2 separate regions of the Homo sapiens genome follow, and region 1 is linked to region 2. The links are contacts of gene promoters, found by promoter capture Hi-C in human tissues and cell types (Jung and others, 2019). All regions are on one chromosome and are shown on one strand. Each heading gives the region's core, a stretch centred on a gene start or on the middle of the fragment in contact. The rest is flanking DNA. Distances are from core to core; before and after follow the strand shown. Region 1 overlaps MYOM1 (myomesin 1). Region 2 holds the start of SMCHD1 (structural maintenance of chromosomes flexible hinge domain containing 1).

What was found. The method cuts DNA at HindIII sites, captures the fragments that hold promoters and counts their contacts. A contact is called where the count stands out against the background at its distance.
Region 1: a contact is called between a fragment that was not itself captured here and the fragment with the promoter of SMCHD1 in region 2, in 1 of the 25 tissues and cell types used here (lymphoblastoid cells).

The regions. Positions count from the first base shown.
Region 1 is chr18:3,173,086-3,178,553 of GRCh38, forward strand. It overlaps MYOM1 (myomesin 1), which reads right to left. Exons shown (of 38, transcript NM_003803.4): 6 at 2,957-3,049; 7 at 1,035-1,123; 8 at 853-915. Among named protein-coding and RNA genes, the nearest start is that of MYOM1, 44 kb to the right of the region's middle. RefSeq lists enhancers at 4,715-4,834, 4,855-5,244. The HindIII fragment of the contact is 4,313 bases long and covers 1,575-5,468 here.
Region 2 is chr18:2,652,779-2,658,713 of GRCh38, forward strand. It overlaps SMCHD1 (structural maintenance of chromosomes flexible hinge domain containing 1), which reads left to right and starts at 2,948. Exons shown (of 48, transcript NM_015295.3): 1 at 2,948-3,483. The coding sequence starts at 3,298. It also overlaps the pseudogene CBX3P2. RefSeq lists an enhancer at 1,127-1,756 and silencers at 2,791-3,240, 3,471-3,650. The HindIII fragment of the contact is 8,444 bases long and covers 1,078-5,935 here.

The sequences.
Region 1 (5,468 bases), core at 2,481-4,980, 520 kb after region 2:
CTTTTTTAGTCTGACCACTGTAAGTATATAATTATTTCAACAACCATAAAGATTTTACTTTTATTGCTTCTCATAAATAGAAGTTCTGATGTAAATGAAATGACTGACATTCACAAATTTGTAAATTACTACTGACCAGAATATTTTTAATAGGTTTTTATTTAATCATATTTAGACTTCATTTTAGATTGTACTTTATAACTTAATGCATTTATTTATTCATTTCATTATTGAATACCCACTCTGTGGCAGGCCCAACCTTGCCTTCAAGTGGCTCATGGACCAGTGAGAGAGACTGACACACAACAGGTAACAGTGTACAGCCTCACTGACGCTCCGATGAGGTGCCATGGCCTCACCCAGGACACCTAACCCTGACTGGGTAGGGTGTAGGGGCGGCAGTGGGGGTCAGACCTGCTTTCTCAAGGAAGTGATGCCCATCTGGATATTTAAGGGTGAGAAAGAGCGCTTTGATATAGTCCAGACTCGTGTGTGTGTGTGTGTGTGTGTGTGTGTGTGTGTGTGTGTGTGTGTTTGGTTAAGTCGTTCTGCCCAGGTTTGCATAATGATCTTTCGCAGTTTAACCCAGAAAGATGTAAAAACATTTGCTATTTTTAGCCCATCATATCTGGGCTTTCATAAAACCAGCACAAAGCAATTCGATTCAGAAAGAGAACAGTAACCAAAAAATCTAAAAAAATAAGTAAATAAAATAACCACAGGTACCTACTACATCCAACCTAGCATATACTATGTTATATATAGTATGCATTTATTTCAGCATTATGGGCTAACTTATTATGCCATATTTTACATAGAGGTGACACTTAGTAAATGTGTTTTTAAACTTACAGCTGAGGGGCATGGTGGAAGCCCCAGCGTGGAAGCGAGTCTCATCAAACTCTCCCTTATACCCTAGAGAAGAAAACAGAAACGCATGTGAACTGCTTTGTGATCGATTTATTTTAAAACCATGGGAAGAAATTTTTAAAAACACACACACACTTTGAAGAAAACAAATCTAGCAAACCTACTTTTTACCACAACTGAAGCATATGCCGAAAGCTCTCCTTTAACATTCATCGCCGAGGCCCGGTACTGAGCTGTATCTTCAAAATCACATCTGAAAGAACAGACGGAAATGAATATCCATCGTAGTGACAATCCTTGTAATTACTAGCTGTTCTATCAAGGAACTCTTTGCTATCACAGCCCCCTGCAAATCAGTGGCTAACACATGGCTCTTTGGTTCTCCTGGTACAGCTATTTGTCTCTGATCTAGCTACCTGTGGGATATTACCTAGTCCAAGTGATCTACTGCAGTTTCATGCCAGCAGCATAGACTGGGGAGAGAACACCTATAGTTCACTGTGACCCTAGCCTGGGTTCATTTAAAATGTCAAAAAAAAAAGTCAACCAAGTGCTAGGCACATAAATTATAGAGTGAACAGCATTGTGATCCGCTTACTTGTCTAAAGTTGCATTGGGAGGAGAAAATGTGCAGGCGTGTACCTTTGTAGCAAGTAACTACCCAGAGGCACACTGGAGGGCGTGGCTTTCCTGCTGTCCTGCCCTTGTGGTGGGTTTCAGTCTGGGGGCAACCAGGAAATAGGGAAGAGAAAGAAGCAGTCCCTCCGTGTAGATTCCCACAACCTCCCTGAGCCACGTTGGTCTATGTGTTCTAGCTTCAAAGCTCATCTAAGTTATTTACACTTCATTTCCACTAAGGTTCAGGCCATACTTGGAATTTCAGCTCACAGCACACAAGAAGCGCCATTTGGATGTTCTTCTAAGTTATAATACAGAAACTGGAATTCTTATAAAAATGGACCATTAGGGAGAGAATGGTTTCATGGAGAGATGAAGAGGCTAAGGTTTCAAAGCAGGTTGTTTTATGTCTTATCATTACCAGTTTCTCGTGTTCTTCATTGTTTCTCGGGGTTTAGTTTCATTTGTGTAAATTTTTTTTCTTGCTGAAATTTTACAGACATCAATAGAACCCCAGCAAGGCAAACACAGTTGCCCTTCTCATAACTACTTAATTTTGAAAGTAACCACATAGCTCACTGTTGCTTTAGCAGAACCACCCACTGGCAGAACTGACCTGACTTTGGGTCAGGGTCAGTGCCTGGCAAATGGCACAGGGTCCTAGCATCATTTGGCCAACTCCTCTGATCTGAGGAGAAGGCTATAAGTCTCCTGAGAATGAATGGTATAAATTTCACCTTGACACTTAGGCACATCATGGTTTTATCTAAACTGAAAATTCTGGGAACTTGTTTAGCTTTTCATTGACCTAATTAGGTTTGAATTTCAAAATCATCTTGGGAGGCAAAATAAACATTTGGGAACTTAGGAATTTTGATGTAGGTTTCGTTTTCAAATTTTGCTTTGGATTTTACTTTAAGCTCAAACATCTCAATGTCTAGCCTGCTTCACATACACAGATTGACAGAGTGCATACTTTCCCATGGTTCCTGGCAAGCTGAAGGAAAGAACATTATCTCCAAGTTTAGCCCACATTCAATGCCACCTACCCGGATCTCCATGGCCTTTAGTTATTAAAAACAAGAGACTGTGATGATGATATTGATTTGGGACTCTGAAATGATTACTGAATATAAATGCCTCTTTATGCAACATATTTTTCTTACTTACATCTAAGAAAAATTCCCAAGTATATAAAAAGATAAATAAAAACATGCAAATTGGTTTTTTTCTCATCATCTTTGACCGAATCCAAATATAAAATCACTTTGGGAGGTAGTGTGGGTATGGTAAGGATCAGTCATACATATCACTTTCAGGTGTGCACCCAGAGAAGCACCGTATACGAATGTCCCTCAGTGTGATCACACAGCATTGGGATGAAGTGGGGAGAGTGGCTGTTAACTGCAGGGGTGAGAAGCCTCCCTGAGCAATGGTGAGCAACACATGGACACTAATGTTCTCTTACCCATTAATCTCCAGAGTGTGCATCCCATATCGACTCTCAATAATATACTTTCCAGGGTTTGCATGGACATTTATTGGCACCTGGTTTTTATACCTATAACAGAATGGAAACAAAATGAAGTAAGTTGAAGTGTAAACAACTTCATGATTAAACACACACACAATTCTTGTTCTTGCAGGAACATCTGTAAACAGGGCACTGAGGGTAGCAGCAGCATCGATTAAATAAATGTAAATCATATTGGCTTACGTGAAGTGCACCAGCAATACATCACACTTCTTGATGAAGTGCTTTCCCCTCCTCTATAAACTTACATGAAAAATGTTGACGATTCACAGCAATATGGCTGAATATCATGTAACATAGTTACCGAAAAAAGCCAGTTACAAAACAGTGCACAGCAGAATGATTGCTTTTATATAGAATACAAAAACAAAAAACTAATTAATGCTACTAGAAATCAGTAGTGTGTTGGGACGCAAGAAGGAGGCTTCTTGGGTGTCAATAATGTTTATTGATTTGGGTGTCAGTTACATGGGTGTGTGCAATCTACAAAAATTCACTAAAGCAATTCATTTGTAAAAGTGTGCAGTCTTTGGGAAGCCGAGGCGGGCAAATCACTTGAGGTCAGGAGTTTGAGACCAGCCTGGCCAACGTGGTGAAATACCATCTCTACTAGTAATACTAAAAATTAGCCAGGCATGGTAGCACACACCTGTAATCCCAGCTACTCAGGAGGCTCAGGCACAAGAATTGTTTGAACCCAGGAGGCGGAGGTTGCAGTGAGCTGAGATTGTGCCACTGCACTCCAGCCTGGGCGACGGAGTGAGACTCCATCTCGAAAAAAAAAAATTTGCAGTATATAATATGCACACTTTTTGTGTGCATGTTATATTATAATTTAAAAGGTTTTAGGCCAGGCATGGTGGCTTATGCATGTAATTCCTGTAATCCCAGCACTTTGGGAGGCTGAAGTGGAAGAATCACTTGAGGCCAGGAGTTTGTGACCAGCCTGGGCAATAAGCAAGACCCTGAATCTACAAAAACTACAAAAAATTAGCTGAGTGTAAACCTGTAGTCCCAACTACTTTGGAGGCTGCAGTGGGAGAATAGCTTGAGCCTGAGAGGCTGAGGCTGCAGTGAGCTATGATCGCACCACTGCACTCCAGCCTGGGCAACAGAGTGAGACCGTGTCTTAAAATAAATAAAACAAACAAACAAATAAGCTTTTTAAAAATAAATAAAACAAATAAATACATAAATAAGCTTTTTAAAAAGTTGACCACTATTGATGTAACAGAGAGGAAGGCTTTCTGTTGGGGGTTTTATTGCTGGCTATCTGTGTAGGATGAGAGCAAAACATTCTTCCTGCTAACATTCTTGCATGTTGTTAGAAGCAATATCATTATTATTATTATTATTATTATTATTATTATTATTATTATTTGAGACAGAGTTTCACTCTTGTTGCCCAGGCTGGAGTGCAATGGCATCATCTTGGCTCACTGCAAACTCCACCTCCCGGGTTCAAGTGATTCTCCTGCCTCAGCCTCCCCAGTAGCTGGGATTACAGGCACCGGCCACTACGCCTGGCTAGTTTTTTGTATTTTTAGTACAGATGGGGTTTCACCATGTTGGTCAGGCTGATCTCGAACCCCTGACCTCAGGTCATCCACCTGCCTTGACCTCCCAAAGTGCTGGGATTACAGGTGTGAGCCACTATGCTCGGCCTGCAATATCATTGTATTGAACGATCATTATATTTAAGTGTTTTATTCAATGTCATAAACAAACATGGCTCTTGCCTTGGAAGAATTTATAATATAAATCATGAAAGGAAACTTCTGACAAGTAAGAGCTGAAAGCCTCCCTTTTTCTGACTGTTCCATATCTGGTTAAGCCTCACAGCCCTCGGAGAGTGGACTACGCAGGCGGGCCTCTCCCTGGGACCCTGTCTTCTGGGTCTGTACGTGGCGCCTGGATTCTTCACCACTTCCTCATGTTCTCAGTAGCCAGTGGCTATGGTGCTGGACCAGGCTTTTCTACTTAAACCATTTTCTGCCCAAAAGAGGAACTGGGTTTCACTTGTTTCCCTTTCAGACAGCCCACTTCGCACGCACAGATGACGTCAATAACCCTGATTAACATAGCTGACACAGAGAATTGACTATGAGCCAGGCAATGCTCTAAGCGCTTTATGCATACATTGGTAAGTTCAGTTCTCACAACCACCGTATGAGATAGTGCTGTTTTTAACCTCATTTTCCAGATGAAGAAACCAAGGCATGGGGGTTTCAGGAACTTGCCCAGTCACACAGCCAGGAACAGCAGAGGAGGGATTTGAACCGGCAGCCTGGCTGCTGACCCACATGATGCTTCCATTTTCCAATTGTTCTGTCTGCATTTCATTTCTTCAGACTTGTGGACACGATCATAAGGAGGTTTGGGAGTAGGGAACATGATGGAAAGGGAGAGGAAGGAAGAATACTGGCTTCAGTCAGCTCCTTCCTTT
Region 2 (5,935 bases), core at 1,698-4,197:
TTGCAATTTGAGGACACTTCGTGTTTGCCCCTTTGCGTTTGCCTCTTTGCCAGCACCAAGTCAGCCTCGTCTGAGTCTTTGCATTCCATTAGAAACATTAATTCTTCACTGCAGTCTGTGGCACCAATTCTTTGCTTAGGATCAAGAGTTCTGGCAAAGTCTCCTGGTTTTTCAGCAGCATCCCTTTCATTTGCTGTCATCAGATTCACTCTCGGATAAAGATTTTCTTTTTGTACTATCTTTTCCTTTACCAGTTTTTTTGAGGATTAAGAAATAGTTCAATGAACTCAGGAAAATCTAAGTTTTCTTCAGGTTCTCAATTATTGTCAGCAAGTGTAAATCCTTTCCGCTTCAGGGAATATTCCACCTTCCCATTCACCACACCTTGGTGTAGTACTTTTTCCACCACAAAATCCTCAGGCTCTGCTTCATCAGCTTTTATACCCTTTCCACTAAGTCTTTTGTCCCATTTTTTTGCAATGTACAGTGGCCCTCAGTATCCTCGGGTTCCGCATTCCTGGATTCTATCAACCGAGGATAGAACATATTTTAAAATCACAATAAAACAAAAAAATACAAATGAAAAACAATACAGTATAACAACCATTTACATAGCATTTATATTGCATTAGGTATTATAAGTAATCTAGGATGTATGTAGGTTATATGCAAATACTTCGCTCTTTTATATGAGGGACTTGAGCAGCCTTGGATTTTCCTATCCATGGGGGTCCCGGTCCAGAAACCAATTTCCCAAGGATACCAAAGGACGACTGTAGTTTTACTGGAGGCCATTTTTAATTGCAGACATGAAGAGCTATTGTTCACCATCTCGTTCACCATCTCTGAGCTGCACCTGGTCTGGGTCTGTGGCATCTCAAATCCTGCCTGACTCAAACTTGAGCTACATGCAAGGAAGAAGGGAATGGGGAACTTCTTCAGGGGCCACTAAGTTTTGGGGAAGTTCGTTATGTAGCAATAAATAACTGATACAAGGCCACTTAAATATTTTACTCTGTAGTAAGATAGCTAATTAACAAAAACTAAGAGTCAATTGAAGAGAACTCATTAAGGAAGTGGGTCATTTCAAACGCTTTTATTTACTTGTGATGACAATTAAATAAAGAACAAACTCGTCATCTTTCTTTGATGAAAAAATTGTTTGATATTCTGAGAACAAAAGTGATGCCATACTGCCATTAAGAAACTGATTCAGACTCGATCTCTCAACAAGGTAAGACATCAATGTTCCCATCAAGAGCTGCCCATAATACTGCAGTACACTTCTCTGGCACCATTAAAAAAAAAATCTCTTAGAGATGATCCTGAAATCTCTTCTAAAGACATGAAAGAGGTGTGCTTGTATAATCTGGTATTACAAAGAAATGAGAAATTGCCCTGATGACGAATCTCCAGCTCTAATCTCAATTTGCTGAAGTAGAGAGGCAATTCATCTTACCCATTAACTAAGAATTAGAAAAACAATTTGTGTTTTTCTTTGAGTCATTTAACTCAAATACCACTATATAAAGGAATAGAATGAGACATTCGCATGAATTTGAAAGGTAAATAAAACATCAGACTTCAAAGAAATTCCATTAGAATCGGGGGTTACTTTTTTGTTTTCTTTTCCTCCACCTCCACCTTAAGGAACATGAACGGCATTTGGCCACAGTTTATGTCTTTCCAATTTTATCTTCCACCATCTACCGCTCAGTTCTCCTCACTTCCAGCCAAACAATGTATGTTCCCCAAACACGCCTTCACAATTTCGTTCTAGTTGGTGTCTACCTCTAGTATATGTGTAGTCAATTTATACACACATTCCCCACGATCTTGAAACGTCTTGACATCCACAAGCAAATCTAGGTTTCTAACATAACACTAACTTTGTAAGTCTGTCCATATAAGGTTTTAGCAAACCTAGTAAAACAGAAAACGCACTATTATCCAGGCTTATATTCTGAGATTTGAAAAACCCCTCTATCTGCTACCTTTGGGTTTCTGAATTTACATACCACTCTCAAGTATACAGTATTCACGATTTCTAAGAACTGGAGAGTAAACCTAGTCCTCTAACAATGGCATTTTATTTGTTGAGTTAGGGCACTACCTGCCCACGATGAGGATAGTTAATGAAACGCTGCCCGGTAACGACGATTAAAGGCTTTGATTGAAAACGTATTAGGCCTTAAGAATTTTGCGAACATCTAATTTAACCCTAGTAACTGTGGCGTGGGTTCTTTCAGAATTTACACGCACGTGGGAGACCGCGAAGCGCAGGCAGCGTTAAAACTAGGGCGCTGGAGTCACCCCCGTACCCCGAATGCCGTCGGCGCTCCAGGGCCCCCAGAGGGTGCGGGGGGCGGGGACGCTGTGACGTCACAGAGCGCCCTTCTGACGTTCTCACGGACCCGCTTTGCCTCGGGGGCCCACGCTGGAGCCCACCCAGTACTACTAAGAAATGAGGAGGAAAAAGGGGCGCCGGCTCTCGTAGCGCCTATTTTCTCGGCAGAGGGACCCACGTGCTCGCTTTGGTGGACTCTGCGCCCGGCGAGTACCGCCGGCCTGAAGCTTCCCGCCGCCGCGTCCACGCGACCCAGCCAGAGAGGGCTCAGTCAGCCGGCGCGGCACCTACAAGCTCAGTCGGGATCCTGGAGAGGCGGGAAGGCAGCGGGGCCCTTTCCACAGAGAGAACACAGCTCTTCGGGAGATTCCCCCGCTGCCCCCGAGCCCTGCTCTCCCGCCTCGGCCTCTGAGGACTACCCGCAGGGCGCAGGCAGCCGCGAAAGACTCAGCCTCCTTCCAACTTCGCGAGGGCCGAGGGGGCGGGCCCCGGGCGCGCGCGCGGCGAAGCCCCGCCCCTGCCCGCGCGGCCTGCTGGATTCGCCCCGCCCCTCGCTGTCGCCCGCCGCCCGCCACCCGCCACCGCTCTTCCTCCTGCGCCACAGTCCCGGCGGCGGCGCTGGTCGCGGGTCGCACCGTGAGGCTCGCGTGGGCGGCGATAGGCGCTGGGCCCGGGCCCGGTGAGGAGCGCGCCGCGCGTCCCCTTCTCCTCAGGAGTGGCGGGCCGCGGAAGTGACGTGGTGCACGGGCAGGAGCGCGTTTGAATCGGTTCCCGGGTGATCCTCGCGCCTGCCGCTGCTCGGCCGCCGCCGCTGACGAGGAGCTGCAGCGCGCCGGGCCGAGGCCTCGAGCCGCCCCGGGAGCTGGAGCTGAAGGCGCCGCGCGGAGCGCGCACCTCAGCCCTGAGCCCGGCGGCGGCAGGCGTCGCTGTCTTTTCTCCTTTTCCCCAATATGGCAGCGGCGGACGGCGGCGGGCCTGGTGGGGCCTCTGTGGGGACTGAGGAGGATGGCGGAGGCGTCGGCCACAGGACGGTGTACTTGTTTGATCGGCGCGAAAAGGAGTCCGAGCTCGGGGACCGGCCTCTGCAGGTCGGGGAGCGCTCGGACTACGCGGGATTTCGCGCGTGTGTGTGTCAGGTACGCGAAGGGGCGAGGAAGGGATGCGCGTGTAGACTTGGGGGCGGGAGGGTGATGAGAAACTCAACTTGCTCACTGAGGGCAATAAACCTGTCACCCGGTCCCGGTCCTGCGGCCTTGGCTTCCCTCTCCCGTGTGCCCGCCATGTCCGTGACCTGGTGGCCGGACGCCTCGGGCGGGCCCTGGCCCGGGCCTCGAAGTGCAGGGCCGGCTCCCCCGTGGCCCTCCCTCTGCCTCCGCTCCTTTTACGGGAGGCCTTGCCGGCCCGGGTGGAGAGCTCAGCGTTTGTTGGCCCTGGGCGAGCTTAGCCCGGTTGCGGCCCTGCAGTCTAGGGAAAGCCGTTGGTGGTGTCTGTTTTTACTTTGTAACTTTTTTAAAACGAGAGAAGGGAGTTAACGCCCAGGGGCTCTGTTGTGAGTGTTGCGACGGTGGGAAGTTGTGAAATGCCCGGAGTCATCTCCCCCAAGTTCATTAGATGATGCGGGGTGTCCCCGGGTTGCCCTGTCGAGGTTGCAGGTCCTTCTGGGGCGGGGCGGCGGGGGGGATCCTTCCGCACGGAGACACTTGTCCAGGTCAGCTCTGCAGGTAGAGCTGGCCTTCTGCCTGTCTGAGCCCTAACCCTTGGGAATTTCCAAACCAAGTCAAAGGTTGGTATGGGTGGCTGTGGAGCACCAGAAAACGTACCTACCCCGTGTATTGGTTCGCTTTGAAAATGAACGTGGAGGGAAATCCGCTTTAAACTGTGATGTACTTTATAGATATGAGGTGGTGGCATTGCCTGAGCTTTGAAGAAGGAATATTGTCATGCTCTGAATTAACCATATGAGGTCCCTTTTTAAGCTGTTAAGAACACTTAGCGTCCAAGGGAAAAAAAGAACTTTGAAGCCGTGTTTTGTCGTGAGGCTGATAGGTTTAGAAATGTTCTAGACCATATAACTGTATGGTTGCTGAAATAATTGAAATCGTGATCCGTAGAATGAAAACGATTGGAGAAGTAAGGACTTTCTTTTGTTCACAGCTGTAGTCCCAGCGTCTAGAACTGTGCCTGCGACATTGTAAATGCCCAGATTAGAATGGATAAATGAATGAAGACAAAAACCTATCCCCTCAAGTTAATTCTGTGCCTGAACGTAGTAGATTCCCGTTGTGTTTGAAAAGTGAATGAATGCTCATCTTTTTTGTTGAATGCTTTCTATTCAGAACCATTCTACAAAAGGGAAACTTTTTACGTTTATTGTGTTTATAGTAAAAATATCAGTACATTAAAGAAAATATGGAACCAGAGGGGGGAAACAAGTAAATCTTTTACTCGCTGTAAAACTACTATATGACTACTCTTAGCACCTGAGGTTATGTCTTTTCAGCCTTCCTCCTCCTTCCCACTCCATTTTTTAAATTACTAAAATATGTGTTTTATATTCTATTAATTTTTTCACTTAATAGTGTCAGAAGTTTCTTTAAACGTAGGTCTTCAAATCAAAATTTGAAATGGTCCATTTGCTACCACTATTTACATAACCGAATCTCTCCTTTCTGTTGACATTTACATTACTTTTAATTTTTTTGATTTTAAGTAATGCTGTAATAAACATTTTCCCAGGCCCAAATATTCCCGGGCTCAGGTGATCCTCCCACCTCAGCCTCCCAAGTAGCCAGGACTACAGGTGAGCGCCACCATGCCCAGCTATGTTTTTTTTTTTTCGTATTTTTCGTACATACGGGGGTTTGGCTGTGTTGCCCAGGCTAGTCTCGAGCTCCTGGGCTCAAGAGATCCACCCGCCTCCCAAAGTGCTGGGATTACTGGCGTGAGCCACTGCACCCAGTGGAAAAACATCTTTGAATACATAGCCGTTTATGTCTTTTATTATTGTTTGCTTAGTTTGAAATCTTAGAACTGGATCAAAGATGAGATACATCTTTAAAGCTCTTGTTTCGTATTTTAAAATTGCTTTTTGAAAATGTTTTGCTACTTTACCCTTCCTCTAGAAATGCACTATTTCCCTCTCGTGAGATGTCTCAGTAACTCTTAGATAAATAGAGGAAGTATTATTGGCCTTTTATTACAGAAGTATAAACACAGTCGTGGAAATGGTGACTCATTACTCAGATAGTAAAGCTCAAGTTAGTATTCAAACCCAGAACCTCTGTTCATTCTGTTATACTACTCAAATGGCATTCTTTGCTGTAGGGAACAGATGTATTTATTCCTTCCTTCAATATTTCAACTGGAAAACCAAGGAAAATATTTCTTTTAACTAATTCTGTTCCTCCTTCCTCCCACTTTATCCTGCTAGAAAACGTTTTAAATTTAGTTAGAAATGAGAGGGACCAACTAGTAAGAAAAAAGAAGGCTGAGAAGGCTAACTTTTTTGTTGTTAGACTTCTTTTAAGCATTATTAGATTGTGCCTCGGATCCCATAACTTTGTCTCCATTACGTACTCGAAGAACTGA